Linked DNA regions of Homo sapiens: region 2 is linked to region 1. The links are contacts of gene promoters, found by promoter capture Hi-C in blood cells and fetal thymus (Javierre and others, 2016). All regions are on one chromosome and are shown on one strand. Each heading gives the region's core, a stretch centred on a gene start or on the middle of the fragment in contact. The rest is flanking DNA. Distances are from core to core; before and after follow the strand shown. Region 1 holds the start of POU5F1B (POU class 5 homeobox 1B). Region 2 overlaps LOC105375751 (a long non-coding RNA gene).

Region 1 (4,866 bases), core at 606-3,105:
TTACTTGACTTAAACCTCACAACAGAATTGAGCAGAAAGTTATTACCCTGAGAAAGGGGACTTAAGGTTGGCAGGATAACAAGTGGGAGAATCTAGAGGTAAAGTCATATCTATCTTATTGGAAACACTCAAGAACGTCAAATAAGCATGAGAATTTGAGCAAGACTGAAGGAGAACGTTTAAGTTCCCTTTCCAACTCATATCCCAATTCTGGAATCTAATTTCTGTAACAAGTAACTATATTCCTTACTACAGAAGTAAAGATGGCCCCATGGAGAAACTGGCAGCATGGCATGATGGAAATGGAATAGAATCAGGAATTGTTTTGTACCTGTGTGTGTGTGACTTTGGTGTTCTGACTCAGACACATATTTGAGAGGTAGAGAGGGGAGAAGAGGGTTGCCACATTATGTAACAGAAAGGAGCCCACTGCTTAAACACTTACCTTGTGCCAGACATTGCACTAGGACTTTATTACCTGCAACCCATCCTGCAAAACTGTGAAGATTTGATATGATCATTCTCATTTTATGGTTGAGAAACAAGGGTTAAGGACATTAAAAATTTACTCAATGTTTAAACATTTGCCTGTCTTATTCTAAAGCCCCTTCTCTTTTCACAATCCCTTTAAGAAATGGACATCCAATATTTGAGTGGCAGAGGCAAAAACATGGCCTACCAGAACCATTATGATAGCTTTACAATATGCCCACCAATTATTTGATAGTCCTCCTGCCAAATGGTGAAGGCTAATTACCCTCCTACAGAATGTGACTCACTTCTAATGAATAAAATATGGCACAAGTAAAAGTGTGCGATTTCAGAGACTAGGTCATAAAGAACGCAGTGGCTTCTTCCCTGCTCTCTCTTTCTTAGGTCATTCTCTCTGGGTGAATCCAGCTGACATGTTGTGAGGACACTCAAGCAGCTTTATGGAAAAGCCCACATGGTGAGCAACTGAGGCCTCCTACCAACAGCCAACAAGAAACCGGGGCCTTTGCCAACAGCCAAGTAAGTGAGACATTTTGGAAAGTGGATCCTCCAGCCCCCGTTAGGCTCCCAGATGACAACATCCCCTGCTCTCATCTTGACCACAACCTCATGAAATACCCTTATCCAGGATACCCAGTTAAGCCACACCACAATTGCTATTTTACAAAACTGTGAGCTATGTGTTAGTTGTTTTTAAGCTATTAAGTTTTGAGGTGATCTATTACACAATGATAAACAACTAATACACCCATCCAGTGCTGAAGAAAGGGGTTGTCAGGAGGGTAGAATTTGCACTATTAAATCTTCATAGAGTGCTATTTCCCGTCACTACAGCACACTTGTCACCAACTATAAAGAATTAGGTCAGGGAATTTCTTTGGTTGCAGCCCATTTTGCCTTTGGTTGTTAATGGTAGAACCGTTTCCCCACAATCTGCAGGAAATAAGAATCAGAAAGAAGGACACACCATTCCATAGCACAGAACACAAGTAGATGGCTCCCATGAAGAATCTAGCATCATGGTATGGCAGAAGCAGAATGGACTCAGGAATCATGGTGCCTACACTGGAATTTCAGATCGGCCACTGACACAATGGACACATTATTCAACATTTCCAAATCTTGGCATTCTTATCCACAAAGTGAAGATAATAATTGTCAATTCACAGGTGATTATGATTTAAAGAGATTACTTTTGAAGAGTTCCTAACACATTCAGTCAACATTTAATGATGCTTCAGGCACTGTGTTCATTGCTAGTGAGCGTATGACACACACAGCCATACGGTCACAGAGCTTTCAATGAAAAGTAACATAATTGCTCATTTCACCAGGCCCCCGGCTTGGGGCGCCTTCCTTCCCCATGGCGGGACACCTGGCTTCGGATTTCGCCTTCTCGCCCCCTCCAGGCGGTGGGGGTGATGGGCCATGGGGGGCGGAGCCGGGCTGGGTTGATCCTCTGACCTGGCTAAGCTTCCAAGGCCCTCCTGGAGGGCCAGGAATCGGGCCGGGGGTTGGGCCAGGCTCTGAGGTGTGGGGGATTCCCCCTTGCCCCCCGCCGTATGAGTTATGTGGGGGGATGGCGTACTGTGGGCCTCAGGTTGGAGTGGGGCTAGTGCCCCAAGGCGGCTTGGAGACCTCTCAGCCTGAGAGCGAAGCAGGAGTCGGGGTGGAGAGCAACTCCAATGGGGCCTCCCCGGAACCCTGCACCGTCCCCCCTGGTGCCGTGAAGCTGGAGAAGGAGAAGCTAGAGCAAAACCCGGAGAAGTCCCAGGACATCAAAGCTCTGCAGAAAGAACTCGAGCAATTTGCCAAGCTCCTGAAGCAGAAGAGGATCACCCTGGGATATACACAGGCCGATGTGGGGCTCATCCTGGGGGTTCTATTTGGGAAGGTGTTCAGCCAAAAGACCATCTGCCGCTTTGAGGCTCTGCAGCTTAGCTTCAAGAACATGTGTAAGCTGCGGCCCTTGCTGCAGAAGTGGGTGGAGGAAGCTGACAACAATGAAAATCTTCAGGAGATATGCAAAGCAGAAACCCTCATGCAGGCCCGAAAGAGAAAGCGAACCAGTATCGAGAACCGAGTGAGAGGCAACCTGGAGAATTTGTTCCTGCAGTGCCCGAAACCCACACTGCAGATCAGCCACATCGCCCAGCAGCTTGGGCTCGAGAAGGATGTGGTCCGAGTGTGGTTCTGTAACCGGCGCCAGAAGGGCAAGCGATCAAGCAGCGACTATGCACAACGAGAGGATTTTGAGGCTGCTGGGTCTCCTTTCTCAGGGGGACCAGTGTCCTTTCCTCCGGCCCCAGGGCCCCATTTTGGTACCCCAGGCTATGGGAGCCCTCACTTCACTGCACTGTACTCCTCAGTCCCTTTCCCTGAGGGGGAAGTCTTTCCCCCAGTCTCCGTCATCACTCTGGGCTCTCCCATGCATTCAAACTGAGGTGCCTGCCCTTCTAGGAATGGGGAACAGGGGAGGGGAGGAGCTAGGGAAAGAGAACCTGGAGTTTGTGGCAGGGCTTTTGGGATTAAGTTCTTCATTCACTAAGGAAGGAATTGGGAACACTAAGGGTGGGGGCAGGGGAGTTTGGGGCAACTGGTTGGAGGGAAGGTGAAGTTCAATGATGCTCTTGATTTTAATCCCACATCATGTATCACTTTTTTCTTAAATAAAGAAGCCTGGGACACAGTAAAAAAAAAAAAAAAAGAAAGAAAAGAAAAGTAACATAATTGAGTAATAATTTTTTAAGTGTGGTAAAATGTGTGGCACGTAGTAGGTATTCAATAAATACTTGCTTTTTTCCTCCTTTTTACCTTTTCCTAGAGTGCTACTTGATGGTAGCTGTAGTTTTTCTTCAAGACATCCTATTTGTCCTGATACAAAACCTCTTTTGACCGCTAACGGCATAGTTCGGCCCTCACCATTCCCTCACATATTCCACAAAAATGTGAGCATTAACCATTCCCCATGATACAGATAATTCATTTTTTAATTTAATTTTTTAAAATTTTATTTATTTACTTATTTATTTTGAGACCAGGTTATGAGACTGGCTAATTTTTGTATTTTTGGTGGAGATGGGGTTTTGCCATATTGTCTAGGCTGGTCTCAAACTCCTGAGCTCAAGGGATCCTCCTGCCTGGGCCTCCCAAAGTACTGGGATTACAGGCATGAGCCATTGCACCTGGCCCGGATAATTTTTTTTCTTTTTTTGAGGTAGTGCCTTCCTTTATAGCTCAGGCTGGAGTGCAGTGGTGTGATCTCGGCTCACTGCAACCTCTGCCTCCCAGGTTCAAGTAATTCTCCTGCCTCAACCTCCTGAGTAGCTGGGATTACAGGCGCCCACTACCACGCCCGGCTAATTTTTGTATTTTTAGTAGAGATGGGGTTTCACCATGTTGGCCAGGCTGGTCTCGAACTCTTGACCTCAGGTGATCTGCCTGCCTTGGCCTCCCAAAGTATTGGGATTGTAGGCGTGAACCACCACGCCCGGCCCTGAAAATTCATTTTTAAAAGAACATCATATCTACCTTAAATGCATTAAGATTTCACATTAGACTCATTATTCATAGTGAACATTAGGAACTTAAGTCCACTCAGTAATAATGCACCTATTCATGACTCTTGATTCAAAGATGTGCACCTATTTACCCTGGACCAGCTCCTTGGAAGGACATGAAATAGAGGGTAATAATCACATCTTTCCAAATTTGCTATGAAACTGCATCGCCAAAAACTGAGACTCATTTTCCGATTGATGAATCAAATGACAACAAAATCTCCAGGGCATTCTGAAACCCAACAGGGATTAATGATTAGGCATACCAGTGGTAGTTAGGAGACTTGCCCAAATTTCCAGTTTTCTGCAGATGGCATCTAAGTTAGAAGACTGTCATAAATTTATTCATGGCTTGGCTTTCTGCTATTTGCTCATTGGTGACACTTTTATATACAATGGTGTTTCTATGGCTAGGAAATCCCAGTGGAGATCAAGAAACCTGGGTTCTACAAACTAATGGGGTGACCTTTGATTAGTCCTAACTCCCTTCCTAAGCCTCAGTTTCTTTAGACATGAAATGAAAGCAATGGATTACATTGCCTTAGACTTTTTCCTAGATCGAAAATGTGATAATTGTGCCTTTCCAACAATAATTGATACCACTAGTGAACATTCTTTCTTAAGCACATCTATTAAGGACTTCATTTATATTATTTTTCTAATCTTTAAGCAAACTCTGAGATAAGTGACTATGATGTTTATTCCATAGGTGCAAAAGATTTGTCAAGTAACTCTCCAAAGTAAAAGAGAGGGCTGGAGTTTAGACTCATGACTGTTCTGCTCTAACCCAAGTGATTCTGGATCCCAGACTCCC
Region 2 (4,866 bases), core at 1,064-3,563, 540 kb before region 1:
GTCACTGAAAGGGCTGAAAAAATCAAAACAAGACAAAACCACGATAAATATCTTTCTCCTTGAGGTAGGACCTTTACCTACTGGTAGAGAACACAGGTGCTCTCTGCAAGCCATTATGGCCTATAAAGAGGAGCACTGTAGAATGCTTATCTTCATCCTAAACTTTACAGTGAGATGACCTCGAAGGCCCTCTATGGAGAGGAGTAAGCAGGTGGACAGCGGTATTTAGGGAAAATCTGTCTTTGTGGAGAAGTTCCCTACCTAATTAACCTTCCCTTGTTTGAAGCCTTTTTTGGTGGGACCTGGGGGTGGAAGAGCCCATCTCATTTATCGTTTGTCCTTTGGAAGCATTCCACTCTCCTAAATGGAATTTTATATTGCACACTTTCACATACAAATTGTACAAAACCCTGACCCTTATGTTTGGAAGAAGAGAAATAATGTATTCTATTAAAAGGAGGTCCCCCCATTTAATTGCACAATGATGTGACGGTGAAGCACCCCTAGAGAAGTGTCCTTTAGATACATCTGTGCAGAAGGAACTAGCTGCGTGAACTGGGACAAGTCATGTCACCGCTCCTGGCCTCATTTCCCTTGGGGATTAAGCCCAGTGGGGCACTGGAGGCTGCCTTGGTCCCTTCCAGCCCTCACATTCTCTCACACTCGGCTCTTCTGTTTCCAAGAACAATAATGACTGCAGAAAATATCATTTTGCCTTAGATTGTGATCTTCGTGACTTCATCTGTGTGAACAGACAAACATTAAAAAAACAGCTGAAGCATAACACAGGATCTAAGGCCATGTCCAGGGGCCCTTCCTTAAAGCCTCCAGTTGAGATAAACTTTTAAACAAACAGCATTTGTGTGTTGAGAGAGGTGGGAGAAGGTGGTACGGTATGAAGTGGAGTCTTTATTCAGGGTCTAAGCTCTCGTTTCCTGGGACAGTGAGAACTTTGTCTTTTCGGAAAGCTTGCCTGAAGTGTTTGCCTGTTTTATAGCTTGAGGTCAGGGAAGAAGAACAAGATATATCTGAGCCGCTTCCTCCCTGAGCCTTTCATCCCTCCCTGCTACCTAAGTCTGCAGCCTCTGCACCCTTTGGCTAGATTCCTGCTCAGGAGAACCAGGTCAACTCGCACACATGTGCACATACACACATACAAACACATATGCACACAACAGAACAATCGCACTCCTTTCTACCACTGAAATGAGGCTGATTCCCCTGTGGAGGAAGGGATGGTTTGCTACATGGCCCTCACACAGTCCTCACTCCTTAATGACATCCTTGCCTCACCCGGCTTCACTGCCCCTCTCTGGAGGCTGCTACAGTACTGTGTACATTTCCAGTCTACTTTCTTTGCCTGGAAGGGTGCTAATTTTGTTTTCACACATGCATAGCACTTCTAGTTCATGAGCTCTCTGAATGCAAGGCCTGTATCTGATTTACTTTTGATTCCCTGGTCCGAGGCCTTAGTATATAAAGAGCCATCAGCTCGTGATTTTTGAATAAATTTCAAATTAAGGAACATAGTAAACACCTTTTGGGATCTCTGCTTATCTCACAACCACCTCCAATTAACTGCTCATTAATAGGGGTGGACGTCTGGCAGCCGTGTTTCAACTCTCTAAGACTCTGTATGAACCAATCAGAGTCCCTCTAGCAGGTTGAGAGAGAACGCTTAGCCTTTCCCACAGCAGGAACGGGGATGTGAGGTGTCTGTCCTTCACCAAGTCTCCAGAGAAACAATGTAAGCTCTGCAGAAGATATAGAACTGGGCCGGGGGCGGTGGCTCACGCCTGTAATCCCAGCACTTTGGGAGACCCAGGCGGGTGGATCACGAGGTCAGGAGATCGAGACTACGGTGAAACCCGTCTCTGCTAAAAATACAAAAACAGCTGGGGGCAGTGGCAGGTGCCTGTAGTCCCAGCTACTCGGGAGACTGAAGCAGGAGAGTGGCATGAACTCGGGAGGCGGAGCTTGCAGTGAGCCGAGATCGTGCCACTGCACTCCAGCCTGGGCGACAGAGCGAGACTCCGTCTCAAAACAAAAACAAAAACAAAAAAACAACTGAAGACCTTTTATTAACAAAAATAATGCAAGGTTGTTATAACAAATCAGACCACGCATACCCATATGATGGAGGAACCAATGTTCGAGAATGGCTAAGAATATTTTATAAAAGAAAAATAGGAAGCGGGTAGGGGCTTATCCTACCAGATTAAAACAGTGTGGTAGTGAGTATAAATACGGTATGTTGGCAGAACAGATAGGATCCCGCTACATATAGGCACTTACTCGATAATAAATGTGCCACTTCAGTGGGGAAATGACAGATTGTTATTTTCTTAATGGTACAGAGACAATTGATTCCACATTTGGGTGAAAAGCTAGCTTAAATGGAGTATAAAAATAAATCCATATGAACTAAACATAAACATAAAATCATTATTAAAAATAGTATTAAAGACTATACTTTGAGGTGGAGGCAGCTTTCTAAGCAAGATAGAAAACACAGAAGCTATAAAAGACAAACTATTAGCAGCTTCAGTTACATTAAAAAATTAATAATTTTTAAAATTGGAAAGAGATCCCATAAAGAAATAAGCCAGGTAATTATTAGAAAGTATTTGCAACTCATATGATGCACAAGAGGATATTATCCCCAGGATGCAAGGAGTTTCTACAAATTAAGAACTAAAAGATAGACAACCGAACAGAATAATGAATGAGGGCATAGTTTTAAGTCTCCCTCCCTCTCTTTTTATAAAACACTAATTTTTGTTCAAAGCAATAAGCAAAAGTTTAATTTGTTCTGTGTCCTCTATATGTAAAGTCCATAAAGTTCTGCGGGAATCATCTCCTTTTAAATATGAGCTGCTCAATTTCGACACTGAATTCAGCTAACGTATATTAACCAAGAGAAATCAAGAGTGCTTTGAATTCCCACTCAAATTCATTTGACGGCTATTTGCCTTACCACGCAGGGCTTTTATAAAGCCCCAGGAACGGGGTGTGCAAACAGTGGTACCTAACTCAATTATTTCTCTTCCACCTTTCTTTTCTTTCTTTCTTTCTTTTTTTTTTAATTGACTAGTCTTCTTCAGCAGCTGTTTCAAAGGAAGGGAGGGAGGAAAGTAGGAAGGAGGGGGTGCAGGCAGCCTGGCCGAATTGGTCCATTCTGTTCCTGGTGCGGTTCCTCCTCTAGCCACATGATGGCGGCATGAGCATTGCCGTACTTCTGCGCTCTCAAGTCTAGCGCTTTAAATCCCCAGTTTTAAAGCCAGGGGCGCCGGGGTGTGTTTGTGTTTGTGCCTGCAAGTCAAGGCCATGCCCAGACTTAGCACTCTCAGCTGCTCTGTAATGCAAGTCGACAGGAAAATCTACAAGGGCTTCACGGTCTTCTTTCTAGAAAAATCCCAACAAGGGTTTGATAGTAAAAAGTACTTCGTAGTCATTTTCAAATAGGGGAGAATTTCCTGAAGTATGCAGCATCTGCTCTGCCGGGTTTGCAATCTGTGCACAGGTATTGCAGTTAATGAGCCACCGGCTTGCCGCTTCCAGGGCCAGGCTGGAGCAGTCAGCTGGTGGAATGATGGGAACTGCAATCGGCAGCTCTGCACCAACGTGCCCCGGGTTGGAAAATGTGATTTGTGACAGAGAAGCTTGGGAATAATAATGAAAACATAATTGCTCCAGGTTGGTTGCTCTCTTTCAATTGCAAAGCCGTCTCACCTCTTGTGAGAGGAACTGTAGTTCTAAGCGTTCATTTCTCTAGAACAACTAGAGGCACACCCAGCAACTGTCCTTCTGCCCCCAGTGAAACTTGGATTTTTTTTTTTTTGAACTCCAGAGAAGAGCTGTCCCCCAAATTCAAGAAGAATCGTACTTACTTCATCTCCAGGATGCCTGGGGCAGCTTGTCTGTTCAAGCAGAATCTCCCAAGTCATGAATGTGGCTTTGAAACCTATTAGTCCCATCCTCTGATGCCTGGGACCAGGCTATTATATTGTCGGGTTGGTTTATTGTTGTTGTTGTTGTTTGTTTTTGCCTCATGAAAATAAAAAAAATTAAACCCCTGCGTATGAATGAATTTTCATCGATTTTTCATTTGGTCATCCTACAGAAGAGGCAGAGGATGTTGACACAAACTTACAGACTGGGACTCCAAGGATCAGCCAGATGAAATGCTATGTGCAGAGTCTTCATTTCCCAGCTCAGTGGTGGACAGCAGAGGACTCTAAGGTGGGTTGCCCTGATTGGAGTCCCCCTTCAGCCACTTTAAGTTAACGGATGTCTCTGAGCTCCAAGTTTCTCATCTGTAAAATGAAGAGAAAGATGTCAATTGCTTGGGTTTTGAGAAAGACTGAAAGAGATCATAGATGTAAAATACTTAGCGTGGGGCCCGGAACCTCTCCTGTGGCTGGGAGTGAGTGGGCATGTTGCACATTGAGAACCTCTTTACACAATTGCCCATCCTCCTAGCCCTGCAGTCTGTGCAGACATTTCCATGCCAATCTCCACGGTATTTGTGCAAGTAATTCTTTCTGCCATGGGGCTTCTCTGGCTGACTTCAGAATGTTGCTCAGCTTTAAAGGATGGACTGAGAGGTTAATGCTGGCGGAGGCACCCTAACCAAAGGGGGACTGGATCTGTTGGATAAATGCATCCGCTCTTCATTTCCCCAAGGGTGATGGTTCCGAGACATGTCTCAAAAGAGGGGGACACTGAGCCACAGTTACTCCCAGGAATGGCCCAACACACAGCATATTTCTACATTCATGTTTCTTTTTCCTGTTACTCAGCGGTGCTTCACTCTTGTTCCTTAGAATCACCTCATAAATGAACTACCTTGACATGCCCTGACCC

The links. Contacts are between HindIII fragments. The CHiCAGO score rates a contact against its expected background, and 5 or more counts as called.
Region 2: a contact is called between a fragment that was not itself captured here and the fragment with the promoter of POU5F1B in region 1, in 1 of 17 cell types (M1 macrophages). The highest score is 6.8, in M1 macrophages.

What each region holds. Positions count from the first base shown.
Region 1 is chr8:127,414,012-127,418,877 of GRCh38, forward strand. It overlaps POU5F1B (POU class 5 homeobox 1B), which reads left to right and starts at 1,856. Exons shown (of 1, transcript NM_001159542.3): 1 at 1,856-2,935. The coding sequence starts at 1,856. The coding sequence ends at 2,935. All of the region lies in intron 5 of CASC8 (cancer susceptibility 8), which reads right to left. The HindIII fragment of the contact is 3,513 bases long and covers 1-1,963 here.
Region 2 is chr8:126,873,549-126,878,414 of GRCh38, forward strand. It overlaps LOC105375751 (a long non-coding RNA gene), which reads left to right. Exons shown (of 6, transcript NR_188069.1): 4 at 4,124-4,242. Among named protein-coding and RNA genes, the nearest start is that of PCAT1, 140 kb to the right of the region's middle. The HindIII fragment of the contact is 2,694 bases long and covers 967-3,660 here.